Regions from separate parts of the Homo sapiens genome. Here regions 1, 2 and 4 are each linked to region 3. Evidence: promoter capture Hi-C in human tissues and cell types (Jung and others, 2019). All regions are on one chromosome and are shown on one strand. Each heading gives the region's core, a stretch centred on a gene start or on the middle of the fragment in contact. The rest is flanking DNA. Distances are from core to core; before and after follow the strand shown. Region 1 overlaps ATRN (attractin). Region 2 overlaps ATRN (attractin). Region 3 holds the start of SLC4A11 (solute carrier family 4 member 11). Region 4 overlaps PTPRA (protein tyrosine phosphatase receptor type A).

Region 1 (3,485 bases), core at 397-2,896, 340 kb after region 3:
ACCTTTCCCATAGTTATTCACTCCCTCAGAAAATGGATGGCACCCAGCTTTGCTTATTACCCTGGTGTCTCTAACAATGACTCTCGAGTCCACAGAAGTTAAAAGGGTTCAACCAGGTGGCCACAGATATACTTCTGGTACCCTTTCTCTCTTCCTTAGGTTTTCTAACTCTAAACGTTTCTGGGTATTCTAATCTGCTGTGGCCACGTTTATGAAACAGAAATTCACAGTCTTAATGATAAGACTGACAGATGAGAGACAACTGAAGTGTAATGTCCTTCCACAGCTATACCTCTAGATGTAGCCCAGTTAGTAGAGCCCAGATTTTTATGGAAAAACAAGAAAGGACACCTAGCCTAACCCTTAGGACAGAGGCTGGCTGGTAGAAAGCTGGAAGGAGGTGACCCCTGCAGGTGAGAAGGAGTGAATTAGGATGTCGAAGACGGAAGGGCTTTCTGTGATTTAATTAGTGCCCCCATCTGTGAGATGTAGAGGGAGATGATTAAGGGAGTGGCTCTTTGAGTGAGCTGCAGGTAAGTTTGCATGGTTGGCTGCAGGCTGGATGGGAGGGGATTTTTATAGTTGAGCCTCAGGAAGGAACCAAGGCCAGACCCTGCGAGGCCATGGCTACAATAGTAATGGATTTGAATTGTATCGTGAAGGCAAAGAAATTATTGAAGGGCCTTTAAAAAGTATTTTTAATTGTCTTTCTTTCTTTTGGATCTGTTTATTTTTAGGTCTTTTAGTAGGCATGTGTATTTTTTCCTCTCAAAAATGGAAATAGGCTGGGTGTGGTGGCTCCTGCCTGTAATCCCAGCATTTTGGGAGGCCAGTGAGGGAGGATTGCTTGAGCCCAGGAGTTCAAGACTAGCCTGGGCAACACAGGGAGACCTCGTCTCTACAAAGGAAGTTTTTTTAAAGAATTAGCCGGGCATGATGGTGGCACATACTTGTAGTTCCGGCTACTTGGGAGGCTGAGGCAAGAGGGTTGCTTGAGCCCAGGGGTTTGAGGCTGTAGTGAGCCATGATCATGTCCCTGCACTCCAGCATGGGCAACAGAGCGAGACCCTGTCTCAAAAGAAAGCAAAGGGAGGGAAATACAGTATATCTTTTGTTTTATAACTACCAAAATTAGGAATACTTACCATTTCTTGGCTAAACTTTATATTTTGATTTTTAAAACTTGTTAAAAATTGCAATGAGAAGGAAATTTCAGGAGAGCAGAAGACAGACTGTCCCAGGTGTCACTGTCCTATTATTCCCTATAAAATCCAGTGCCAGGATGGATGAATGGATAAAGCAAATGTGGTATAAGTTGAATATCCCTTATCTAAAATGCTTTGGACGAGGAGTGTTTCGAATTTTAGAATATTTGCATTATACTAACCAGTTAAGCATCCCTAATCTGGAAATCCAAAATGCTCTAGTGAACATTTTCCTTCAGCATCCATCATGTTGGCACTCAAAAAGTTTTAGATTTTGGAGTGTTTTGGATTTCAGATTAGGGATACTCAGCCTGTGTTTGGGGGTAGCCATCTCTTCATATAGACATTTCAGAACTTAAATATTGCTTTGCTATAATTTCTGTGAATTTTTGATATATTATCTTCTCTGAGCTACATTTTTATCCTTTATAAAATGGCCATATTGAAGTGATGATCTATCCTAATCTACCATGGCTGAGTCAAGGGATAAAGAGGTTTTCCTATGTCTGTGGGGTATACTTAACTTGGTGGTTTTTATCTAGAAGCTTGTTTTGGTCAAGATGTTGGTTATATTCAGGCCAGGCATGGTGGCTCATGCCTATAATCTCAACATTTTGGGAGGCCAAGGTGGGAGGATCACTTGAGCTCAGGAGTTTGAAACTAGCCAGGGCAACATGGCAAGACTCCATCTCCAAAATTTAAATTAAAAAAAGATACTATCTGTATTCATAGTTGTGTCTCTTTTGCCTTTAGTCCAAGCTCACCTTAACCCCATGGGTCGGCCTTCGGAAGATCAATGTGTCCTACTGGTGCTGGGAAGATATGTCCCCATTTACAAATAGTTTACTACAGTGGATGCCGTCTGAGCCCAGTGATGCTGGATTCTGTGGAATTTTATCAGAACCCAGTACTCGGGGACTGAAGGCTGCAACCTGCATCAACCCACTCAATGGTAGTGTCTGTGAAAGGCCTGGTAAGTTCACAGGTGAATTAGGTGGTATTCAGAGTTTATTGTGAGAGAAACCATAGGAGGCATAGTTCATTGCTGAGATGTGTGAAGTAGTCATGAAAACAGATGAAGTATTGATTTCAAGCATGCAAAGAAGAGTATAACCCAGATTTCAGAAGCAGAAGGAAATATTCTGGGACCCTGAATAGTTTTAATTATAAGCAAAACTAAAAATAACTAACACTACTCGAAGAAACTGATATTCTAATTAACAATGAGATTGATAGGTTTATTGACCAGAAAAAGTATTGAGAATTGCTCTGAAAAGCAAATTTATTGGTGTTGGCAGAGAAATGCTGTGGAAGAAGAAACAAAAAAGGAAAATAAAAACAAAGAAAAGATTAGTAAAGCAAGCAAGTGACTGCAGGGACAGTGTTCAGAAAGGTAGTGTCAACAGGGAGAAAAATGATGAGAGCAGTTCTGTAAGCGAGGACAGAAGCAACCCAGAACTACGCGAGAGCTGCAGGAGAGTACTGAGCAGACAGACACTCGGAGTAGCTTCCCAGCTTTCAGTCTCTCTGGGCTACATTTTGGCTAACTAAAGGCAGGCCCAGGGGTAGCTGCTGCAGCATGAAGACAACTCAAAATAAGCCTCCTCCTCCTGCAGAGGGACTCACAAGCAGTCGGTGGAATTGTGGATTATTTTGGGAGGCTGGACTCCATTTGCATTGTGTCCAATTTTGGGAAAGTAATTTGTCTGAGGAATTACAGAGGTATAGGAGAGAATTCATAGCATTGTAGATTTCTAAATATTGATTTCTAAACTTCTCTAGGGGAGCTGCCCAGCAGCCTTTCAGAATTCTGAATCCTTTGTTGAACTTAATGAATGCCGTAGACCTTCTTCCCTCCAAAATTGCAAACATGAGATTTTACATATTCAAGTGGATTGTAAAACCCCTAAAGTTCATCCTGGGTCCCCAAATTCTAAGGGGCTTACAGCCCTACTTTTATGGAAAGATTCACTGTTTCCTCATCTTTGTCCTTAATGCTCTTTGAAAAGAAAATTTATTTTTTCCACAAGTGTGTAAATACACTTGACTAAACAGTACTTGATGACTTTTATTGTTTTCTATTTTCTCTCATTTAATTGATTTCATGGCACATTAATGGGTCATCACCCACATTTGAAAAGTCTTGGCTGGGCACAGTGGCTCACGCCTGTAATCCCAGCACTTTAGGAGGCCAAGACGGGTGGATCACAAGGTCAAGATATCAAGACCATCCTGGCTAACATAGTGAAACCCCATCTCTACTAAAAATACAAAAAATTA
Region 2 (3,351 bases), core at 431-2,930, 410 kb after region 3:
GCAACAAAGCCGCTGTCCTCTCTGTGTTTGTGAGGCTCCCTCGAGGCCTGGGTGGCATCCCTCCTCCTGGGCAGTCAGGTGAGTAGATGCGGTCCAGCGAAAGACACCTTCTAAGCATGTGAGGGAGCTAAGCATGGGATACTTCCCTTTCCTAGAGAACAAGGTTATAAAGGTGATAACCAACAGTGCCTGCCCATGCCATGGCAAGGATTCAGTGAGATAACCCATTTTCACCTATATGCCCAAAACTGTTTTCCCGAGGTCATCGTCCCTTCCTGGGGGGACGTCCCGGGACCTCCTCACCGTTCTGGCCTCCCCAGCCTCTCAGTGCTCGTGGATGCCTCTGACCACACCTTCCTTTGCTGTCGGAGTTTCTGGTCCCCCTTTGCCTCTGCTGCTCTTTCCCTGTCTCTTTTGCCCTGTCCTGCCCCTGAATCTGGGTGTGCTCCCTTCACCCTGCATGTTCTTCCTCAGTTGCCTTCTCCACTCCACAACTTCCAGCCATCTCCCCTGGGCTGGTGTTTCTTCAATTGGTATTTCTAGCCCTCCTGCATTTCTTTTGCTTTTTCACTGTTTTAAATATAAGGCACAAACACAACGATAACATAAAGGAAACGTCTGAAAATCCACGCACAGTTCTGCTATCCCACAACCCACCAATTTTCATTGTTCTGTGTTCTTTCCAGCCCTGGCCAGCAATTTAGTTGAAATGATTGTATAGATCTAATTTTTATTCTGCTTTTTTCATATAACTATCTTAAACATTTTTATAGCCTACTACATAATATTTTACCAATGCATGTGACACTTCTCCATCAAATATATGAATCATGATTATATAAACTTCTATTTTGAAGACAGAAAATATGGAATACAGTTTTGAAAGTATCTCGCTTAATTACAGAGTGCTTTGGAGGATGCCTCAATGTGATCATTTTAGACAACTTTCAGTTGAGATGATTCTGGAGTCAGGGTTACCTTAGCCAGAGAGCACCCTGTGTCTGGTGGAAAGGCTGCCCCAGGATACTGGTCCAGGCCCTGAGCTCCACTGTCCCTTCAGTGCACCCTCAGACCCAGAAGATCCTCCAGCCCAGCTTTAGAATGGTTAGGATCTATAGTATCTTCACGAGGGAGGCCTTTCGACATGGCTCGGCCAGGATTCATTGTCTTCATCTCACCTAGGGATTCCTGTGAGTTGAGCCCCTAACTCGGCCTTGCCTGTGTTGAGGACAGGACAACTCTCTCGTCTGTCACTCAAGTGCAGTTTGTGTCTCCTGCCACCGCCCAGCCCAGCAAACAGTGGCTGGTGTGCCCTGAGGGCAGGGTGGCGGCTGGGGCGGCAAGGTGACAGGTGTGCAGCCCTGTAGCCTTTCCTGCTCCAGCCTTTGCCTGACATGCCCCAACCACCTGAAACACCTAATAAAGGTCTGCTCAATGCTTGAGACCCACCCAACAGTGGGGCCGTCCTTGCTGCCCCTTCTGTACCCCCTGTTTTAAGTGGTGCCCTTTTCTAGGCTCCCAGAGCATTCCCCACTGTGTGCCAGGCACTTACAGCTGTCTACCCCCACCCCCACTCCCCTTCACAGGCTCAACAAGGCAAGTAACACGCTCCACTAACACAACTCCTGGCAGGTCTCAGCAGAGCTCCGAGCCTGCGCTGGCCATTTCCCACGTATATTAGGAATCCAGCTCCCCCAGAACCGTGCCTTCCCTAATGGATGTCAGATTACTCCGTTATCAATACAGGAAGGAAAATGGGATTGCAAGTCCCCAAAGCAAAGTGGGCGGCGGGGCAGTGATGAGCATAAAGGGTAGTTGCTATTGATCGTGGGTTGCTGCGCGCCAGATACTAAGACTTTATGCATGCCAGGTACTAAGACTTTGTCAGTTCACTCATTGATTCTTCACACTAGCCCTGTACTACTATTATCCCCATTTTACAAATGAGGAAACTGAGGTGCAGGGAGGTTAAAGAACCTTGCTTATTCCAAAGCCTGGCCCCAGAGCCTGCCCTGCCTGTATCGTGGTATGGAATGGAAGTGACTAATGCTGACTGAGTGATAGGGGTGAATCTGAATCTCGTCATAAAGCGTGCTGCTGTTTCTCGGCTCCTTTTGGAGGAAGGCAGGAGAAATTGGGCACTTAGCACACGTCTACAATCTCATTTATATGTTCCCACCACCAAGCAGAGCACTGTGCTTGGTTGATGTGCTGAAAAGCAAACTGCACCTTTTGTGTAAAAAGTAGGGAAAGGAGAAGAATGTGTATTTGTATTTGCATAAGTATACCCTCAAAGAATACATAAAAATTAGTGAAAGCGTTTACCCAGATGGAGGGGAAGGCGGAGGGAGGGTCAGGGTGGAAGGAAGACTTTTCCCTGTGTATGTGTACCTTTTTGGGGGTTTTTTGTTCTGGTTTTTTGGTTTGTTTGTTTTGCACCATGGGATTGAAAAATAAATGTTTAAATTATTTTTTAAAACAAAATAAAAGCCAGCTGCTCCCAGCATATGTTCTCTCTGTGGTTCTCCCAAGGTCTTGCTGTGGCCAGCGCCCTGGTGGACATTTCTCAGCAGATGCCGATAGTGTACAAGGAGAAGTCAGGAGCCGTGAGAAACCGGAAGCAGCAGCCCCCTGCACAGCCTGGGACCTGCATCTGATGCTGGGGCCAGGGACTCTCCCACGCACGAGCTAGTGAGTGGCACACCAGAGCCATCTGCAGGGAAGGGCGTGGCGGGGAAATGGCTGTGCGGTGCGGGACGGAAGACTGGAAACCCTCAAAGCATCTGACTCACCTGCATGATCACAAGCTTTCTTTGACGGTTTCTCCCATCCGTGTTCCAGCATCTAACCTTTTACTTTTGCATAGGAAATACTTGATTTAATTACAGGTCCAGGGATGAGCTGATGGTTGCTGGAGGAGGCCAGTGTAGAGCCAGTGAGAGAACTAGGAATGACACTCAGGTTCACTGTGGAAAACTGTTCTTGGGACTGTCTCAACTGTGCAAAAAACAAAAGATGGAGTGTTTACAAGTAGACATTCGTCATCAGTTGTTCTTGAACATGGTCTTTTAAAAACTAGTCAGATGAATTGTTTTCATCTGAAGCCTGCTATCTTTTTTAAAAGATGTGCTATTTATTCTTGCACGATTTAGGCAATTATCTCTCTTCCAGGGAGTACCTTTTTTTCTAGTTGAGAATTAATAATGGTCCATCTCTTTTGATCATATCAAGCTAGGATAGAAGGGGGGCTATTTTAAATGTCAAGGTCAGCAGTGTTACTTTGAATGTAAACTGGTATAATAGGTAGTTTTCTATAGTAACTTGATTAATTTAGTCTTAATCCATTTGAAA
Region 3 (3,255 bases), core at 531-3,030:
AAAAGCATTCCAGCACTAGAGTGGCCCAGATAGGCGAGCAAAGCCACAGGACTCTGGTGGGTAGGCTATGCACCCTGGAGGCTTTTGCCCGACAAGCTCTCTCTGCACACACACACTCCCCGAGAGGTACTCACTTGAATCCTCGAAGTATCCATTCTGCGACATGGTGGGAGAGTTTTCTGCAAGGGAAGCAGAAAGGTCACCAGCCCCATGGACCAAGCCCTGGACCTCCTGTGTGCACCTGTCTCCCCGCCCCCCGACCTGGCTCATTCCTTCGCTCTTCCGAGGGATGCAACCCACGCCACCCTAGGGAGAAAGGGAAGCAGGGGACAGTGCTCGGGAGGGGGCCCCATAGCAGGGGAAGCCAGCCTTAATCTCAGAAATTCAATTGCTTAGCCCATCTGCTAGGGGCTGCCCAGGCGGGCCAGAGGCGAGGAGGAGAGACGTTCCAGGGATGTCTTCCCACCGAGTTAGTACCAGTACCATGTTCGCTAATCCAGGTTTTCCTGAGAAAACCCTGCCCCGCTGCAGCGAGAGGAAGGGACCGGGCCCGAGCGGGCCTCTCCCCCTCTCTCCTCGGATGCCAAGGCGGGGGATCTCTCTGCACATCCCTCTTCTCACTCTCAGACCGGTCCTGGGGGCCATAAACGCCCATTGCAGGCGCAGTTCCCCCGACCCCCGTCACGCGCCCCGGGTCACACGGGGGCCGACAGGCAACGGTCTCCAGTCCTGGGACCGCGTCCCGGCCGCCTGGAAGCCAGAGCCGTTGGTCCAAAAGGGAGAACAATTGGGGGTGGGAGGAGTATCTGAGGGACACATGGGTCGGGGGAGGCTGCGCCCTCCCTGGGCCGGTCCCCGGATGGTCCCGGCTGTTTGTGCCTCGCTGTCGGAGGAAGGAAGCGACAGGAGGGGCCGCGTGCACGAGAGGAAAGCGCCTCCAGACTCGGAGACCCCGGGGGTCGGGGCGCAGGATGTGAATGCAGGCGCGGGGCGGGAGCCGGGGCTGCATCCTGAAGTGGGGGGCGGGGGCGCTGGGGCGCGTCCCAGGCCGTGGGCGACGAGGGTCTGGGAGGGTTGGGCCGGTGCACACTCCGCTTCCGTCCCGGCGGCCCACGTGCAGGTAAAGGGTCGTACAAACCTGGGTCCTGGCGGGGACCCAGGGCTGGCCCTCCCGTGTCAGAGCAAGGGAGAAACCGCTGCGGCCGCGCAGGGCACGGTCAGGGGTCCCGGGACTCCCAAAACTCCAGGGGTTCCGGGGCTCCCACCGCGGCGCCGGACGGGAAGATGCCCGGGCGGAAGGTAAAATGAGACCTTCCGAGGCGGCGGCCCGCCAGGCTCCCAAAAGCTCGGCGCTCGGGGCGCTGGGAGCCCCACAGCTCCGCCCTGCCCACTTTCGAGCTCCCCGCCCTCGACCCGCTGCATCAGCTGTTCAAACCTGGTAAGAAATTCAAGACGGCGACAGCAGAGCCCTAATGAAACCAAGCGCGCGGTGGCCGCGAAGCCGCGCCCGGGCCTCCCGCACCCGCGCCCTCCTCCCCGCGGCTGGGAATCCCGCAGCCCTCTCGCCCACCGGCCCCGGCCCGCGCAGGCAGACGGCATCCGCGTTCTCCCCGGGGTCCCCGACGGGAGACGGTGGCGGAGACCCGGGCGGCCTTCCCGCCGCGCCCCCGGGTTCAGGCACCCACCGCACGGCTGCAGATGGAACACGCGCCTGGTGGCCGCGGCCATGGCACACTCGCGCACTCACGGCCGGGCTCCTCACGCGGCGCTCCGGCGCTTCTGGACCCCAAACTCGGCGACTCGGGCGGGCCGGCGGCGGGAGCCGGCGACACACCCCCACGCCGCGCCTGGGTCCTAATGCCGCTCAGACGCCGCGCCCGGGCGCGGTAGGCAGAGCTGCCGAGGGCTGGGACCCGGCCGCCCGCCCCGCGCCCTCACCCGCGGGAGGCTGCTCCAGCCGGGCTGGGCTGCTCCCCGCCGCCCGCAGCTGCTGGGCCAAACCGAGTAGACCCGGCTCCTTCGAGCCTGTGCGCGCCGGACCCAGCAGACCCAGCGTCGCGAGTTTAGGGGCTGGACGGGGCCGGGGAGCTTCTGGGAAAACGTTCGACTGCGCCACGAGCCCACCGAGCTGTGCGACTGAGGCAGACCCCGGGAGGGCTTCCCCCGCGTCCGCTTTAAGTACGCGGCCGGCCCCTGTCTCCTCCTTTCGACCGGGGACCTCCGCAGGGCCACGCCCGCTGGCTGCCCCGCCTCCTGCATTTATCCCGGTAGCTCCGGCCGCAAGTCCTTCTCCTCCTCCTCCAGGAAGCGCGCCCCGACTGACTAGACGGACCTCCGTGCATTCCCCGGGCTACGCCCTCGCCCGCTGAGACGGCGCTCTCCGAGCTCGGCTGCTTTGGGTTTTCGCTGCGAGCCTCGCCAACTTATCTGCCAGCCTCTTCACGTCCTCGGCCTTCTATGAGGTCAAGGTCATGGTTCGCCCCCTTTTTCCTTCCCCAAATGGCCCTTGCGCCCTGTCCCCTTTCCTGGACCGGCTGCGACCCGCCCGGGGACGCGCCTTTTCGGGGCGCTTAGTCTCCTGCGAGTAGGGCGTGTGCGCGTGTGGGTGCGCGTGCTGCGATGCGATCCGGCAAATGCAGCTGACGAACCCCTGGCCTGATCCACGGTGGCTCCCAGTAGAAGGCTCTACAGCCCTTGGAAACGGAACACGCAGCTCCGTAAAGCGCTAACCAACCTCCCGACCCCTCCGGCCGCCATCGCTTTCCGGCTCAGCCGCGCTGGGACGGAGTCCTCGGCCACTGTGCCCTAACCATGGTAGAGGAACGGGGACAGGCCGGGGCAAGCCCACCTCTGCGAAGGAAGGGCTTCTGGCGCGTTGGGGAAGCCTCATGCATAGATTGGGTGAGTAAGGCTGGCCCAGTTCTCCTCCCGGCAAGATAAGAACGCATTAGGAGGGAAGCGCTGGAGTGCTCCTCTTGGCGACGGATGGCCTGGGGCTCTGCGACAGACTGAGTACCCCACCCTCCCCCAGCGCGACTCCAGGAGGCCTTGTGGAAGATCCCAACACCATGACCTGCAACTGACTTGGGGCTGGCCACATAGTATTTTAGCAGGGGTGACTCTGGAGAGACACCAGGTCATCCTGCGCACCCCTTGGGACCTTTCCTAGACGCCCTCCAGCTAGAGCTCCAGTCCAGGCACTGACTCCCGGGTGGCGGGTGGAGGCTGAGGAAGAGCTGAAGGACACAGGCGGAT
Region 4 (3,269 bases), core at 755-3,254, 330 kb before region 3:
AGATCTTGAACAAATTGGATAAATACAAATCCCCTTTTCCCCTTTTCACCAAATTACTGTCTTACTAATTGTGGGCGTGAATATTTTGAAAGATTGGGGGTGGAAATCATAAAATTCTTTTTTTTTTTTTTTTTTTTTTTTGCTCTTGTTTCCCAGGCTAGAGTGCAATGGTGTGGTCTCAGCTCACCACAACCTCTGCCTCCTGGGTTCAAATGATTCTCCTGTCTCAGCCTGCCGAATAGCTGGGATTACAGGCATGCGCCACCACACCTGGCTACTTTTTTGTATTTTTAGTAGAGACATAGTTTCTCCATGTTGGTCAGGCTGGTCTCGAACTCCTGACCTCAGGTGATCCACCCGCCTCGGCCTCCCAAAGTGCTGGTATTACAGGTGTGAGCCACCACACCTGACCTCGTAAAATTCTTAAACGATCTATACTCAGTTGTCTTACAGTTGCCTAGATTCTTGTTCCATTTAAAGAAACTGAAATTTGAAATCACAAATGTGGATTATGGATATGATGGGTTATGGATATGATATATTTGTAATGAATATGCAAGAGAGAACATTTGAAACATTAATTAGTAGAAATGTACTTAAAGAAGAGGCCTTGGTTTTTTACCGTAATATTGGCAGGTGACATGTATTTGTTTTGAGTAAAAATCAAATATTTCAGTTACATTTTTAAAATTACCTGATATACTGTACTTTTTCATGTAACCAGTCAGCCCTGAGTCCTATTTGTGTTAGATAAGTTTTTACCAATCCCAGAAGGAGATAGAGGACAAGCTTTTATATGCTTCGGCTGAAGAAAACCTTTCTCCAAAGAAGTAATTATCTGATCCTCCTATAAAGGGCCAGATAGTAAATATTTTAGATTTTGCAGGCTGAAGTAGAATCAAGGGTAATACGTACGTTCTGATATAACAAGAGAGAAAACAAATTTTGAGAAATTTCTTAATTGATTAAATTCAAAATAATAAACACAATTTATTGAAATACAGGTATACTAATGAGAAGAATGGAGTTCTTTTCGGAGTGATAACATTTTCTTAATTGGAGTTCAGAGTTAGTGCTTCCTATTCAATAAATAATCATCAAAATTGATTGCAAGTATTTATCTATTAATGCAGGTCTGTAATGAGGTTTTATATATTTCATCTTTGACATGTCTTCACACATACATGTCAAATAATTGATACCAGCCCATAAACATATGATTTTAATTGAGCATATTAATAACTCAGGAAGCATTTATAGAATTAGGTTTTTCTTATAACATTTACCTTTTAGTATATTATTCATTGCTGCTTAATTACTTCCAATGGAAGGTTAGACAGAAGCTCCACAATTGCACTGTTAAATAGATACTGAAATATAGATATTTCCTTGTGCATTAAGGTCCTAAAAATTATTCTGGAAATGTAGTGTGAGCTAAGAAACTATATCCACTGCAAATTTGTTTGGGAATGGAGATCTCACTTCTTGTTTTAACTTTTGATAGCATGTAAAGTGTATAAAGCAGCTCAACGTTGCTTATGATTCAAAAGTTAGTTGTCTAAATAACAACAGTTTAAGTTTCATATATAAGTGTTGTTCTGTCCTGTAATTTTAAGTTGAATTTACTATTATAAAATTAGCAAAAGCTAATTCTCAAAGCCATTTATTGTTTGATCATAGTGTCTGAAAGCAGTCTTATTGTTGTGAAAAATTTCAATCTCAGTTCCAAGCTGAAAAGAAAAAAAAAAAAGCATGATAAAACTTTAGTACAGCTCAGCCGTCAAACTGCTGTGTGCCTGGGCAAGTCAGGTTATTCAGCTTCTGTTTCTGACAATGGTTAAGCCCATGGCAGTGAATGAAATTCACCATTAACATGGTTGGTTTAATAATTCATGATAAATTCAGATATTTTTCATAGAATATCTATTGATAAAAAACATGAATAACCACCTTACATTTTCACGTTTTATAAATCACCCAACTAAGCCTTTTTCTGCTTCACACATATTTTTACCATTATCAATGATAACGTATCTGAGATTCCACTTTAGGTTATATGGAATTAGTACTTTTTCACCTTCTTGTTTGTAGTTGTTCAACACAGACTATTCATAGAAGCTAATTCTTCAGTTGTTTTAAACTTGGCACTGACTCCTTGAATAAACATCTGAACAGTGTTGTAACATCTATCAAACTCATTCAAAAGAGATGGAAATCTACTTAACCTCAATTGCCTTGGTTTTTTTTTTAAACAGATTATTGATCTTGCTCCTAATATTTTCGACTTTTAGAGCAAATGATTTTGTTGAAAGGCTAATAGTCTTTTTTTCTTTTTAAATTATCTTATATTAAATTTAAAAAATAATTTTTTTGTTACCTGTCTGGAGAAAGCCTAGAGAAAGGCTAATTAATACTCTTAAACAAGTTTATTTTCTCTGGATACATTTCTTCAGCTTCTTCATGATTTAATTCACTTATCACTAGAATATTACTTTTCTTGCTTTGCTAACAAATGAGCTACTTAGAAACTTCCCTCCTTTACAAACTTTCTATTCCTTACCTTCCCTCCTTGCTGTAATGAAATATTCCACTTTAAATTTTCAAATTTTTCTGACCATTGCTTTCCTGTGAATCGGAAATACTGTGATCGGTCCTTAGTTTGGTAACATTGATGTATTTTGAATTCTTTTAGCACAGACAGACAGTTGACTCCTTGAACAACGCAGTTTCAAACTGCACAGGTCCAATTATATGAGAATTTTTTTTCAATAAATACAATCAGCAGTTTATACATATACAACCAAACGTGGATCAAAAATACGTTATTTGAGGAAACCCCCAGATACAGAACAGTGAAATTTTTGTATCCTCTGGGCCACTGTGGGACTTGAGTGTGCATAGATTTTGGTATCCACGGTTGATCCACAGATACCAAGGGATGACCGTAGAGTCATTGCATAATAAACAAAATGCTTCCCTATCTTGTCTTGATAAAATAATGCATACCCTCCACTGTGCCTTAAAAGCATGACATTCAGGCTGGGTGTGGTGGCTCACACTTGTAATCCCAGCACTTTTGGAGGCCAGGGTGGGAGGATTGCTTGAGCCCAGGAGTTCAAGACCAGCCTTGGCAACATAGTGAGAGTCCATCTCTAGTTTTAAAAAAATACAAAATTAAAAAAAATGAAAAACATGACATTCAAAGTGCATTTGTTTTTGTTTCGACATGATGGTTATGCACTAATAACTAATGATAGTTATGTACTAAT

Evidence for each region. Contacts are between HindIII fragments. The study calls those that stand out against the background at their distance.
Region 1: a contact is called between a fragment that was not itself captured here and the fragment with the promoter of SLC4A11 in region 3, in 1 of the 25 tissues and cell types used here (spleen).
Region 2: a fragment that was not itself captured here is called in contact with the fragment with the promoter of SLC4A11 in region 3 in 1 of the 25 tissues and cell types used here (dorsolateral prefrontal cortex).
Region 4: a contact is called between a fragment that was not itself captured here and the fragment with the promoter of SLC4A11 in region 3, in 1 of the 25 tissues and cell types used here (spleen).

What each region holds. Positions count from the first base shown.
Region 1 is chr20:3,580,177-3,583,661 of GRCh38, forward strand. It overlaps ATRN (attractin), which reads left to right. Exons shown (of 29, transcript NM_139321.3): 16 at 1,959-2,178. Among named protein-coding and RNA genes, the nearest start is that of GFRA4, 81 kb to the right of the region's middle. The HindIII fragment of the contact is 8,776 bases long and covers 1-3,485 here.
Region 2 is chr20:3,644,191-3,647,541 of GRCh38, forward strand. ATRN (attractin) reads left to right here. Exons shown (of 29, transcript NM_139321.3): 28 at 1-78; 29 at 2,533-3,351. The coding sequence ends at 2,657. Among named protein-coding and RNA genes, the nearest start is that of GFRA4, 18 kb to the right of the region's middle. The HindIII fragment of the contact is 3,961 bases long and covers 1-3,351 here.
Region 3 is chr20:3,237,410-3,240,664 of GRCh38, forward strand. It overlaps SLC4A11 (solute carrier family 4 member 11), which reads right to left and starts at 1,781. Exons shown (of 20, transcript NM_001174089.2): 1 at 1,686-1,781; 2 at 135-179. The coding sequence starts at 1,728. RefSeq lists silencers at 1,591-1,770, 1,871-2,030. The HindIII fragment of the contact is 33,876 bases long and covers 1-3,255 here.
Region 4 is chr20:2,905,574-2,908,842 of GRCh38, forward strand. The region is part of intron 1 of PTPRA (protein tyrosine phosphatase receptor type A); the gene reads left to right. Among named protein-coding and RNA genes, the nearest start is that of PTPRA, 34 kb to the left of the region's middle. The HindIII fragment of the contact is 8,451 bases long and covers 1-3,269 here.